4 separate regions of the Homo sapiens genome follow, and regions 2, 3 and 4 are each linked to region 1. The links are contacts of gene promoters, found by promoter capture Hi-C in human tissues and cell types (Jung and others, 2019). All regions are on one chromosome and are shown on one strand. Each heading gives the region's core, a stretch centred on a gene start or on the middle of the fragment in contact. The rest is flanking DNA. Distances are from core to core; before and after follow the strand shown.

Region 1 (2,851 bases), core at 224-2,723:
GTTTCTAAGGCGTGGCACAAGGTAACTGGTAAAGATACCTAGACCAGTTCCCATACATAGACACTTGGTGACAGCTGGTGCTAGAACCCCCACAGTGGCTGAGGGCATGCAGCAGCAATACTAGTAGCAAAGGGACAGATAGCTAAGGAAGGATCCCGCTCCACTCACCCAGGGAAATCAACTCCTGAAGTTCTGTTCGACCCCACATCAGAGGATCCATTGCAGGAGATGGCACCAGAGATCCCAGTGGTGTCCTCCCCTTAACAGGGAAAGAGGCTCCCCACTCTTGAGCCCACAGTGCTTGTGCCTCCACAAGACAAGCATATCCCTAGGCCACCCAGAGTAGACAAGAGAGGAGGACTATTCATATGATTAGTGGTCATTAACATATACTCCTTTGTGAGGTGTATGTTTCAATGTTTTGCTCATTTTTAATTTTTACCAGGTTGTCTATTTGTGATTACTTTGTAGATGGGTCTTTCTATATTCTGAAAACAAATCCTGGCTGGGTGCGGTGGCTCACGCCTGTAATCCCAGCACTTTGGGAGGCTGAGGTGGGCAGATCACCTGAGGTCGGGAGTTCGAGACCAGCCTGGCCAACATGGACAAACCCCGTCTCTGCTAAAAATACAAAAACTAGCTGGGAGTGGAGGCTGAATGTTTCACTCCGTTACATGTTAATTGCTCTACATTTAATTAGCCGTCTGTGGTGAGAGGCGAGAGGCTAGCGCCTAGCTCAGCGCACAGTCCAGGGCGTTCGCCCCCGCAGGCCGCGGGGCAGGGTGGCTCGTTACTCCGTGGACACTGCAAGGCGCCCTGTTCGCGCTGCGTCGACGCAGTAGTTTCTTCCCATAATAAACCCCTTCTAGATAAAGTCAGGCTGGCGGGAGCGCCCTGGACCGTAGTTCAGGCCCCCGCGCTCCGCGGTGGGAACAGTTCAGGACTCCCCCAACTCCTGCCCCTCTCGCCCCGACCCTCTCCACTCCGCCCGCCCACCATCTCGGAAGTCCCCTTGGGACAATGCGTAGGGGACCTCCGCGTCCCCGACACCCGACTGGGACACGGCCGCGGGCTCCTTCGTCCCTCACCGCCAGCCAGGGAGGCTCTGCATGCCCACGTCCACTTCACAGCCGAGGAAGCTGCGGCTCGCGGAGGTGCCTGGCACGCGGCGGGAAGCAGCAGAGCTCGCGCCCAGCAGTCAGCTCTGGTGACGCCGAGGACACCGCGTGGGCCGGGTTGTCAGGGCGCGGGGGCGAGAGGCGGGTAAATATTTGGGGCTGTAACCGGGGCTTCGGCGACTCCTCGTCACCGCGGTTCCAGGGCGGGCGCGTGGCGAGGGCGGTGCCTGGGGGCAGGGGCCTCCTCGGAGGGCGGCGGGGACAGACCCGTCGCCCCGGCTCCGCAGCCCCGCCCCGGCCCCGCCTCCGCTCCGGCCGCCGAAGGCTATAAGATCTAGGAACCCGAGCCGGTGGTAGGGCGGGCGCGGACCGTGCTGGGAGCGGCGCGGCTGGAGCGCAGCGCCGAAGGGACTGGCAGGGCTGAAGTGTGCGGGACAGCAAGCCCCCGAATAGCCCCGGCTGCCACCTCGCAGGACCCAAGGCCACGCGCGCCGGGCCCAGCTGAGCCGCCTCATGAAGCCGCCCGCGGCGCAGGGCAGCCCCGCGGCCGCCGCGGCCGCAGGTGAGTGCGGGGTCCGGGGTCCCCTTAAAGTCTCGGCTCTGCAGATGGCGGGTGAGAAAGGAGGGGCCCCGTGTCGTCCCTTCACACCCCCCACCCTTCCATCCTCCCCGGCGGGAACCTGTCCCCGGTCTTCCCGCGCGGGCGGCTGCAGCCTCCTTTCCGGCCCGGGCTGGCCCCCATGTCCCACCTTCCCTCCACCACCAGCTCCGCGCGCGCCCGGGGTTGGGGGGAGCGGCGGGGACAGGTAACCGGCAGCGCCTGGGGAGGAATCTGGCCGCGCCAAGTCGCTGGGTGACCCTGGGCCTGGCGAAGGCTCAGTTTTCTTGTCTGTAAAACGGACTTGGTAATAGAACGCACTTCGGGGGTGGTGGAGAAGATTACAAGGTAACAGCGACTGCGTGGCTGTCACTTGGCAGAGGCGCCAAGTGTCAGTTATCTTCGGGAACCGTGGCGGCCCCTCCTGGCCCTGGGAGGTGGTCCCGCTGCCCCCCTGACTTCCGTGCACTGAGCCCCTGGCCCTGCCCGCAGCCCCGGCCCTGGACTCGGCGGCCGCGGAGGACCTGTCGGACGCGCTGTGCGAGTTTGACGCGGTGCTGGCCGACTTCGCGTCGCCCTTCCACGAGCGCCACTTCCACTACGAGGAGCACCTGGAGCGCATGAAGCGGCGCAGCAGCGCCAGTGTCAGCGACAGCAGCGGCTTCAGCGACTCGGAGAGTAAGTGCGGCCCCCGCTAGGATGGCGCCGGGATCTCCCAGCTCCCAGGACCTGCCCCGCGAAGGCTGCGGCCTCAGTTTTCTTATCAGTAAACTGAGGAATGGTTTCCTGAAGCTCAACGCAGTAGGCCGAGTGGTGGCGGGGCCCCTGACGATAATCACGGGAAAGGTCGCTGGAGGGCAGGTTGGTTCACTTGCCGCCCACGGGTGTGTCACCAGGCAGGCGAGTTTAAGCAGCTTGTCCCGACTCAGCCAGACAGGACTCCCTGGACCTGCACCAGGCCTTTCCGCAGTTTCCCTCCTCTTCTCCTTTCCGTGCCTCTCCCCTCTCAGCTGTAACTTTGCAGATGTGGAACAAGTGCCAGTGGAATGAGGGGGCACAGTGGGGACATGGGAGGGCGCAGAACGGAAATATTCATGAAACCAGGAAAGGTTTCATAAGCCCAAACTGCTGTTCT
Region 2 (2,851 bases), core at 185-2,684, 640 kb after region 1:
TATACAGTCAAATTTCTGCCAAAAGAGAGATTCCAAATTAATTTTTGTTTATGCAAAGCCCATATGTTGTTTTCCACAGTCTCAAAAAGAGTGCAAATTGACAGATTCCTGCATCTGTATCTCACAGGATACATATGTATCATTGCTACCACTCACTTATTTCCTGCCAGATTTTTAGCAATTGTGTTTGAAAAGAAAACCTGTAGAAAGGTAGCAGAAAACAAATGGGTAGTGGGATATGTGTCAGCTAGTTCCCTAACTATAGAAACCCTTGAAATAAGGCAAAAAACTTGTGTTAACCTGGGAAGGAAAGGAAAAATTGGGCAGCAGGATATGAAGGGGCCATGGAAGGAGCGGTGGGTCCTCCTGAGACGCTTTCCTGCTTTATAATTTTTTCCATTTTGACTGTGGGAGATACTACTGTAATACTTTCCTAGATATAGCAGCCGCTCAATAAATGTTGACTCCTTTTTTTTTTTTTTTTTTTTTTTTGAGACAGAGTCTCCCTCTGTTGCCCAGGCTGGAGTGCAGTGGTGCGATCTTGGCTCACTGCAGCCTCTGCCTCCCAGGTTCAAGTGATTCTCCTGCCTCAGCCTCCTGAGTAACTGGGATTACAGGCACCTGCCACCATGCCTGGCTAATTTTTTTATTTTTTGTAGAGATGGGATTTCACCATGTTGGCCAGGCTGGTCTTGAACACCTGAACTCAAGTGATCCCCCTGCCTCAGCCTCTCCAAGTGCTGGGATTATAGGCATGAGCCACTGCACCCAGCCAAATGTTGACTACTTTTAATGAGTGCTTAATACCTATTGGTAGAAGAAATTACATGTTGGAGTTAGGAGCTGTGTTTTTAGCCTTTTAACTTGAATTAGACACTGATGATTAGTAATTTTTTGTTCCTCCCAATTTTCTTCTATATTCCCTCTCCTTCAAAGAAAAGCAAAGGAAACTCGTTCTTCCTGTTTTTCTTAAAATGAATTTAAAATTTTACCATCTCTATATATCTATGTGAATATATATTTATATGCCCCACTTCTATAAAGCAGTATTTGATTTGGTACCTATGGATAACTATTAGCCTAATACTGCCATAATTACAATTCAATTAAGTTTATAACCTGACTTGTTCACTAGTTGGGAAGTAACTATGCATTTGTTGGCATTCTGGTTTAAAAACTTTACATTTGCTTGAACCAATCTGTCTAAATTTATAGAACAGAGTACTTACAAATGTCTAATTGTTTATTTTAAAGTTATATTGTTTCTATGTCATTGCTTGTTATTTTCTTAATAGAATTGAAAACTTTTTTGATTTTATGAATACTTATATTTTGATTTTTGTAAATTCAGTAGTTTTAGGTCACAACAAGTAATGTTTTGTCTTTCAAATTTAATTTGATTTTCATTTTATTTTAAACTTTTATGTTCAGGGGGGTCCATGTGCAGGTTTGTTACCCGGGTATATTGTGGGATGCTGAGGTTTGGAGTATGAGTGATCCTGTCACCCAGGTACTGAACACAGTACCCAACAGTTAATTTTTTAACCCCTCCCCACCTGCCCATCTAGTAGTCCTTAGTGTCTGTTGTTCCCATCTTTATGTTTATGAGTACCCAATGTTTAGCTCCCACTTATAAATGAGAACAGGCAGTATTTGGTTTTCTGTTCCTGCGTTAATTTGCTTAGGACAATGGCCTCCAGCTGCATCCATGTTGCTGCAAAGGACATGATTTCATTCTTGTTTATGGCTGCATAGTATTCCGTGGTGTATATGTACCACATTTTCTTTATCTAATCCACCATTGATGGACACCTGGGATGATTCCATGTTTTTGCCATATGACAAGTAATTTTTGAGAGACTTCAAATTTAATTCAGATCCCATTTATGTGGTAAGCTTTTCAGTCACTCCAGACTTGCCTGTTCTCTCCTGGCAATGAATTTCAATGACTTTTACCCAATAATGTCATGCATTGCACATTCTGCAAGGTTTAGTGGAATTGGCAAAGATGAATAAAATTGCTACCCTACTGGAAGCTAATGTTCCTGTTACCTGACTGAGGACCCTTTCAAGATGGAGGTATCATCATTTGAGGTGGGGTTGAGGGAACCACATGAGAAAGGAAAATGTACAAAGATTATTCAGGGACCAATGAGTTTGATCATATGGGAAGAAAAAGTCCTGCACACGTGGGTTTCCGTGTCTGAAGATGGTTCCATTTTTCTTTAACACAAGATTGGTGGTTCATCTGGGTTTAGAATTCTAGGTGAGAAGCCATTTATCTCTCAGACCATTGAAGGCATTGTTCCACTGAGTTCTAGCCTCCAGAACTGGGAAATCCTTTACAAGCTGGATCTTTGTATAATAGCTTTTCCCCAGCCTTTCCCTCCGGGGCTTTCAGGATCTTCTCTTTTCCTTAGGAATCTGAAACTTCAAAGTGAAATTCGTGTGGGTTTATTTTCATCCATTGTGTGGGCTTTTTGTATTCCCTTTCAGTTTTCAGTTCTGGGAAATTGTCTTGAATTAGCTCTTCCTTCTGTTTTCTCTGGTCTTTCTTTTTGGAATCACTATTATTTAGATGTTGGACCTCTTCCACTTACTGTGTAATTTTCCTATCTCCCTATCTCCCCCATTTTTCATCTTTTTGTCTTTTCATTCACACACACAAGAGAACACGAATACCCTTGAAGCCGACTGGAATCTCTGTGTTGGTTCAGTGGGGGGACTTGTCGCCTGTGTCCGTCACTGTTTAATCAAACTAGTCATTTTGTTGGTAACCCCTGTTATCAGCATTTTTTAACTCTTTTCTCTCAACTTTGTTAGATCCCCAAATAAGACTCATCCAGTGGAA
Region 3 (2,851 bases), core at 206-2,705, 610 kb after region 1:
TTGTCTCCTCCTGCATTGCATTATTTTGCTCTATTCATTTTGCAAATGACATGTCAGTTAAAATGAAAACTATCTCACATGTAGAAAAAGAAAGTCTGGATTTTAAAAACCAAGTACTCATAAAATCCTTACTAAATGACACCATCTGATTCAAGTAAAAAATGACTTAAACTCTAGTAATAAAAAAGACAAAATACATTTCATAAGAATACAAAGATAAATGTCTGCTGAGTGTTTTAGTTCAGATGTTCAGAATGCCGCTGTATGTTTGATGAGGAATTTGAGGGGAAGATTTCATAGCAGAAGCTGTTAATGTGGCCTGTATTGACTTAAGTGGTGACCCAACTGGACTGTGAAACTGCGGGATGCCTATTGGGCTCGAGCTGCTTATTAAAGAGGAACTCCTCACTGTTGTTCAGAAATCCTTCCTCATTTCTCTCTCCCCAAGCTTCCCATCCTCTACTGGCTCAGTTTCTAGCATTTCAGGATCTTCTTTCCTGCTGAAGAACTTGTCTAAGTAACTAGTGTGTTTTCCTTCTTAACTTGTTCATCCTTTCTTACTTCACAAAACTGATTTATGAGAAAACAGTTCTCCCCATCACTCACAAACTGGCTGTCCCAAGAAGATGGGTACAAAGTTTCTAATTGAGCCAGATTTGCCATTCCTTTTTCCTGTTTTTCTTGACTTACTGACTTTGATATCAAACTTTTCAATTCTAGTTGGGACACTGAGCTATTCAAGTCGATTTAATTTATCAACAACATCAGTAGACTCATGTTGGAAACTAAATTGAATAGTTCCTGCAATAAAGGAATGAAAATCAAATCCCTGATTCTTTTCCCTTTCTTTTCCAGCCAGTTGCCGTGATGCTTCCTCTAGCGCTATCTGGGCTTTAACCAATCCATTCCTTTCACATTTTGATTTTCTTTTCTTATCAGATTTTTCTTTGCTTTGTTCTTTCCAATTGGAAAGATCTGTAATAAGCTTGGGTTCATAGTAACAGTTAACTTCATTCTCTCTCCAAACTAAGTTATCTAAATATGATCATGACCTCGTTTTGTAATTACAAGTATGGCTACACTCCAGATCACAATATTTGTTTTCATGATGATCTGGGTACTGCCAACAAGGCTCAGCAGAGTAATTGGTATGGAAAGCAGGATCCCCCAGATACCTTTCCCGATCTCCATCCAAATAATTTCAGGGATCGACTTGTACTTCTTCATCAGTGACATCAGACAGAGCTCTTGGATTAAGCTGAACTTCATCAATATCAAAGTTGTTATGTATAGGCCAATCATGCTCTGAAAACTGACAGTCATAGTACCTTTCCCAGTTATAAATGTGACTGTGAGTTTCATCCATAAGCAAAATATTATGAGCTTCATCTTCAATATGAAAAGGATGGCTTGAAATTGGCTTATCCATTGGAAAAGAACATATGCTCATGTAAGGATGGGAGAGCGCTTCTTCTGCTATTAACCAATCCATGGGGCTAAATGTCAAAATTTGTTCCAGGAAATTCAGTGCTTCGCGACTAATTCCTGGAAGTAGCTGAGTTAAAGGTTTGTGTGGCTCAGTCATGTGATTTCTAATGTAAACTGGAATTACGCTGAGAAGCTCCTGACGATCTTCCTCATGTGCAACAGGAATAGATTCTAAAGTCAGCTGCATCTGTTCAAGTTCATGTGCACCTGCAAAAAGGGTTTTACAAAACAGTCAGCATTTCAGCAGAGATGCAGCCTGCAGCCCACATGTCAATGGCTTTAGTATAATTATTAGGAGAAAGTAAAAGACATGGAGATCTGTACCATTTAGTAACCAATCCTTCAAAAGATGACTCTTACGGGAATAATGAGGATCCATGATCCGTGCAAGACCAAAGTCGCCTATCTTCAGCACCAAGTCTTCAGTATTAATGAAAAGATTAGTTGGTTTGAGATCTCTGTGCAGTACATTTGCAGAGTGAATATACTTGAGCCCCCGTAGCAGCTGATACATGAAAAGCCTGGCATGCTCTTCCAGTAAAGGGCCCTGCTCCAGCACTTTAGACAAGTCTGTCTTCATGTACTCCTGAACAATGTAAACACTGTTTAGTTCCGTAAGAGAGCCCACATCATCTGTTAATTGGCTCCCACTGGGACCAGGAATTTCAAACACTTTCACAATGTTATCATGGTCAAGTCTTCTAATAATCTTGATTTCACATAGAGCATGTTTGACACTCTGGGGATTGGTAAGGACAATTTTCTTGATGGCTACTCTTTTGTCACAATCATTGTCTACAGCAGAAAAAAACAAGTAATTGCCTCCACAACCCAGTGGTTTTAAGTCCATATACGTAGAATCCAGATCAAAACCATGAATGTTCATGAGACTTTCAAATTTCTCTGCCACTTTGAAACCCTTATGATTGCCTTTTCCTTTGGAATTGTTGAACTTGTGTAAACAAGGAAGAAAACTGGCATCAAAAGGAAAGATCTTTCAAAAAGGGATAAGAAAAATAATTATGCTTCCACAGCAAGATGGTTTCTTGATGTTCATTGCTTCTGCCAAACAGGCCTGTTGATTTCCCCGTAGGTTTAAAGCTCAAAAAGCTCTACTCATGTTGAGAATTTAAAAGATTGCAGTACTCATAGTTCAAGAAAGGGGCAGCAACTCTGCAGACATTTAAAGAAGACACTCAAGAAACTCAAACAGAATGAAATGACATACTATGCACTCAGATTACTCTGCTAAACGATTTAACATTTAACAAAAATGTGAATAAATATGCACACAACAGGCTTCTATGAACATTCTCCTCACAGTGCAGATACATTCAGTGTTGGACTGGTCCTGAGCAGCATC
Region 4 (2,851 bases), core at 129-2,628, 510 kb after region 1:
GTAAATCTACCTCTGAGAACACAGATGACCCTTAACTCTTTTTCTAAACTACTGATTCTACACACACTCAACCTTTATAGCCTTTTCTCTATTACACAAGGGACCCTAAAATTTAATGGTAAATGATTTTCTAAATTCGTCATTGTGAACTATTTGTGTTATGACCAAATTGTGTGTGATATCTGTTTTCTTTCAAACTACTGAAACATGTTAAGTAAATCATTCTTTGGGCATCATGCATTGTGATTATTCATAAAGAAGGATTACTTTGTTTACGAGCATTTACCAAATCTTTAGTCAGAATATACAGAGGCCTCCAGGAGCCTAGATTAGATATAGGGAAGGGAAAACATGTATTGGTGCTCACAGTAACTAGGAAAAGGGTCCTAGACAACATATGATTGAATTTAAGGAAATTGTTCCATACGATATTATTGAGTGCCTGCTATATGCCCTGTACTGCACTATTCACTGGGAAACCATAGTAAATAAGACAGTTTCCTATGGAACTTGGGACCTATTTAGTCTGTTTTATATTTAGAAGTTTGAGTTTGCCCTATTGGTCAGTGGTTTTCAAACTCTGTTTGAAGCCTGTCATATAATCAATAATTTGTCTGGTCTTTGTCCTGGGTTCCTGGCACAAATAGGAGTCTCTTTATTATTCATGAGCCTTTGCGAACACTCTTCAGTTTGTGCTAATGAGGTGATTCATGGTGGAACCTAGATAGCTTCAGGATGGATGCTGATCATTCCAGAAAGATCAACTATGTGATTAAAGAGTTGAGGCTTTGAACCATATGATAGCAGCCCAGCCTCCTGACCGTCAGGAAGTGGAGGGGGATTGGAAATGGATCTCACTCATGTGGCCAAAACCCCAAAAAACTCTGGATGCCAAAGCTCAGTGGAACTTCCTGGTTGATGAACACCTCAACACACCAGAATGCAGAGTGGCAGAGAGTGTAGAATCTCTACATTTGGAACCCTCCAAGATGTCACCCTATGCGTCTCTACATTTGGCTGTTCCTGCCTAGTACCCTTTATAATAAAGCTGTTATTGTAAATATAGCACTTTCCTGAGTTATGTGAGACATTTTAGTGAATTATTGTGAGACCCATCCCCCTCTGGATTTGTAAACAGTCTGAAGTGAGGGCTGTTTTGCTTTGGACCAATGCCCTTTAACTGGTGGGGTCTGTACTAACTCCAGATTGTTAGTGCCAGAATTGGAATGCACTATACCAGCTGATGTCAGAATAGAACCCCTTCTTCAGTGGCTGCAAAGGAGGGGATTGGGAAAAAAGTTTCATACTAGTTGTAAATTCTGTTCTCCATAATGGCCTCCTGGGTACCCTTTGTTGAGTGATTACTAAGTATCAGAGCAGTTATTTCTGTTTTACAAATGGGAACACCTAGGCTTACAGGACATAAATAACTTCCCCATATTTACATGTAAAGTAACTAGGGACTTGATTGTTGTGAAGAGAAGGTTAAATTCAAGAGCCATTTTGGAATAATTATCAAGTGGCTAATTACACGTGAAAATCAAAAGAGAAAGACATCCAAAGCTAACGTAAGATTGTGACAAAGGAAACCAGATTTTAGAGATATCGGTAACCACAAAAGACAAGGGATGCCATTTTGAGAAAAAGTGGTGACTTTACGTAAAAAGAAAACAAAAACATTTGAAGTTTAAAATGTGAGTGGAAAAGCAGGAGTAAGAAAAGAAGTATAATCCAGCAAGGTTAGCTTGATGTTAGTGAAAGCCTTTGTTTCCTTAGTTTTATTGTTTTAATGCCAATAAAATGTGGATAACGACATGTAGCTCAGACAACTAGCAATCATAAGGATTCCAAGCTAGCTGCCCGGCATCATCTTCAACATATTTCACGTTCCTCACAAACAACGACTCCCTTTCCTTCTCCTTAGTATGCACTGTTAGAGCAGGAAGAAAATATGATCTGTGACCCAAAATAGAGACTCAACTATACCTGCCTGTTCAAAATCTACACGACTTATTAAGACCCTTTCACAAATCCAGTGAAATCCCAAAAATACAGCAGAAATGCCATGATGTGTTTCATACTCCCTAGCTAAAAGTTGAGGGTTGCTGGAAAATCACAACCCATAACCACTGCAGAATAAAATTCAGTGCATATTAGAACATTGCAAACAATTTTTGTATGTATATTTAATATTTATACACAGATAGACATTAAAATGAAATTATAAAATAAATAAAATAAAAATATATTTCTATTTAAAACATAGGTGCAGGTTTCTCCCTCACATGACTGTGCACAAGAACACTGAATAACTGCGTTGGTCAAGTTTTATAATGAGGGTTCACTTAGGCACTGAAGGTTGTCTATTATCCCTGGTGCCTGACCATTAAATGCTAGGAATGGCACCCTGTCATTGTGAGACCCCCCACCACCAGATTTCCCAACTTCACCCTAGCCCCTGGTACTATTCCACCTGAGAGCTTTTGCCCCAGAGCCTCCTTGCTGGGTACAGAGAGGATGTTTGGGGCAAAGAACAAAAGTCTCCTTATTTATCTGGGCACAATATGATTCTTTCCCTTCCCAGTTACTTGTCACAATTTCTATTAGATTGGTACAAATGTAATTGAGGTTTTTGCTATTTATTGAAAGTAATGACAAAACTGCAATTACTTTTGCACCAACCTAACAGCTACATTATAGTCCTCACTACTCTCTGTGTGGCCACTGTGCAAATGTGAGCTCCACAAGGGCTGTAGGCCCAAGTTTGTCAGAGACCCTTCTCTGCGCAGTTTCCTGAGTGGACCACCCAGTTCTTGCTGGCCCTCTTTTTGCTGCCCTGCTCCTGCCTCCT

What was found. Contacts are between HindIII fragments. The study calls those that stand out against the background at their distance.
Region 2: a contact is called between a fragment that was not itself captured here and the fragment with the promoter of RGCC in region 1, in 1 of the 25 tissues and cell types used here (H1 embryonic stem cells).
Region 3: a fragment that was not itself captured here is called in contact with the fragment with the promoter of RGCC in region 1 in 2 of the 25 tissues and cell types used here (dorsolateral prefrontal cortex and lymphoblastoid cells).
Region 4: a fragment that was not itself captured here is called in contact with the fragment with the promoter of RGCC in region 1 in 1 of the 25 tissues and cell types used here (dorsolateral prefrontal cortex).

Annotation. Positions count from the first base shown.
Region 1 is chr13:41,456,077-41,458,927 of GRCh38, forward strand. It overlaps RGCC (regulator of cell cycle), which reads left to right and starts at 1,474. Exons shown (of 5, transcript NM_014059.3): 1 at 1,474-1,680; 2 at 2,209-2,394. The coding sequence starts at 1,632. RefSeq lists a silencer at 1,247-2,086 and enhancers at 1,660-2,337, 2,387-2,516. The HindIII fragment of the contact is 31,337 bases long and covers 1-2,851 here.
Region 2 is chr13:42,094,689-42,097,539 of GRCh38, forward strand. All of the region lies in intron 1 of DGKH (diacylglycerol kinase eta), which reads left to right. Among named protein-coding and RNA genes, the nearest start is that of DGKH, 47 kb to the left of the region's middle. RefSeq lists a silencer at 85-379. The HindIII fragment of the contact is 4,432 bases long and covers 1-2,851 here.
Region 3 is chr13:42,068,696-42,071,546 of GRCh38, forward strand. The region is part of intron 1 of DGKH (diacylglycerol kinase eta); the gene reads left to right. It also overlaps the pseudogene MAPK6P3. Among named protein-coding and RNA genes, the nearest start is that of DGKH, 21 kb to the left of the region's middle. The HindIII fragment of the contact is 5,329 bases long and covers 1-2,851 here.
Region 4 is chr13:41,970,435-41,973,285 of GRCh38, forward strand. The region is part of intron 2 of VWA8-AS1 (VWA8 antisense RNA 1); the gene reads left to right. Among named protein-coding and RNA genes, the nearest start is that of VWA8-AS1, 11 kb to the left of the region's middle. The HindIII fragment of the contact is 7,046 bases long and covers 1-2,851 here.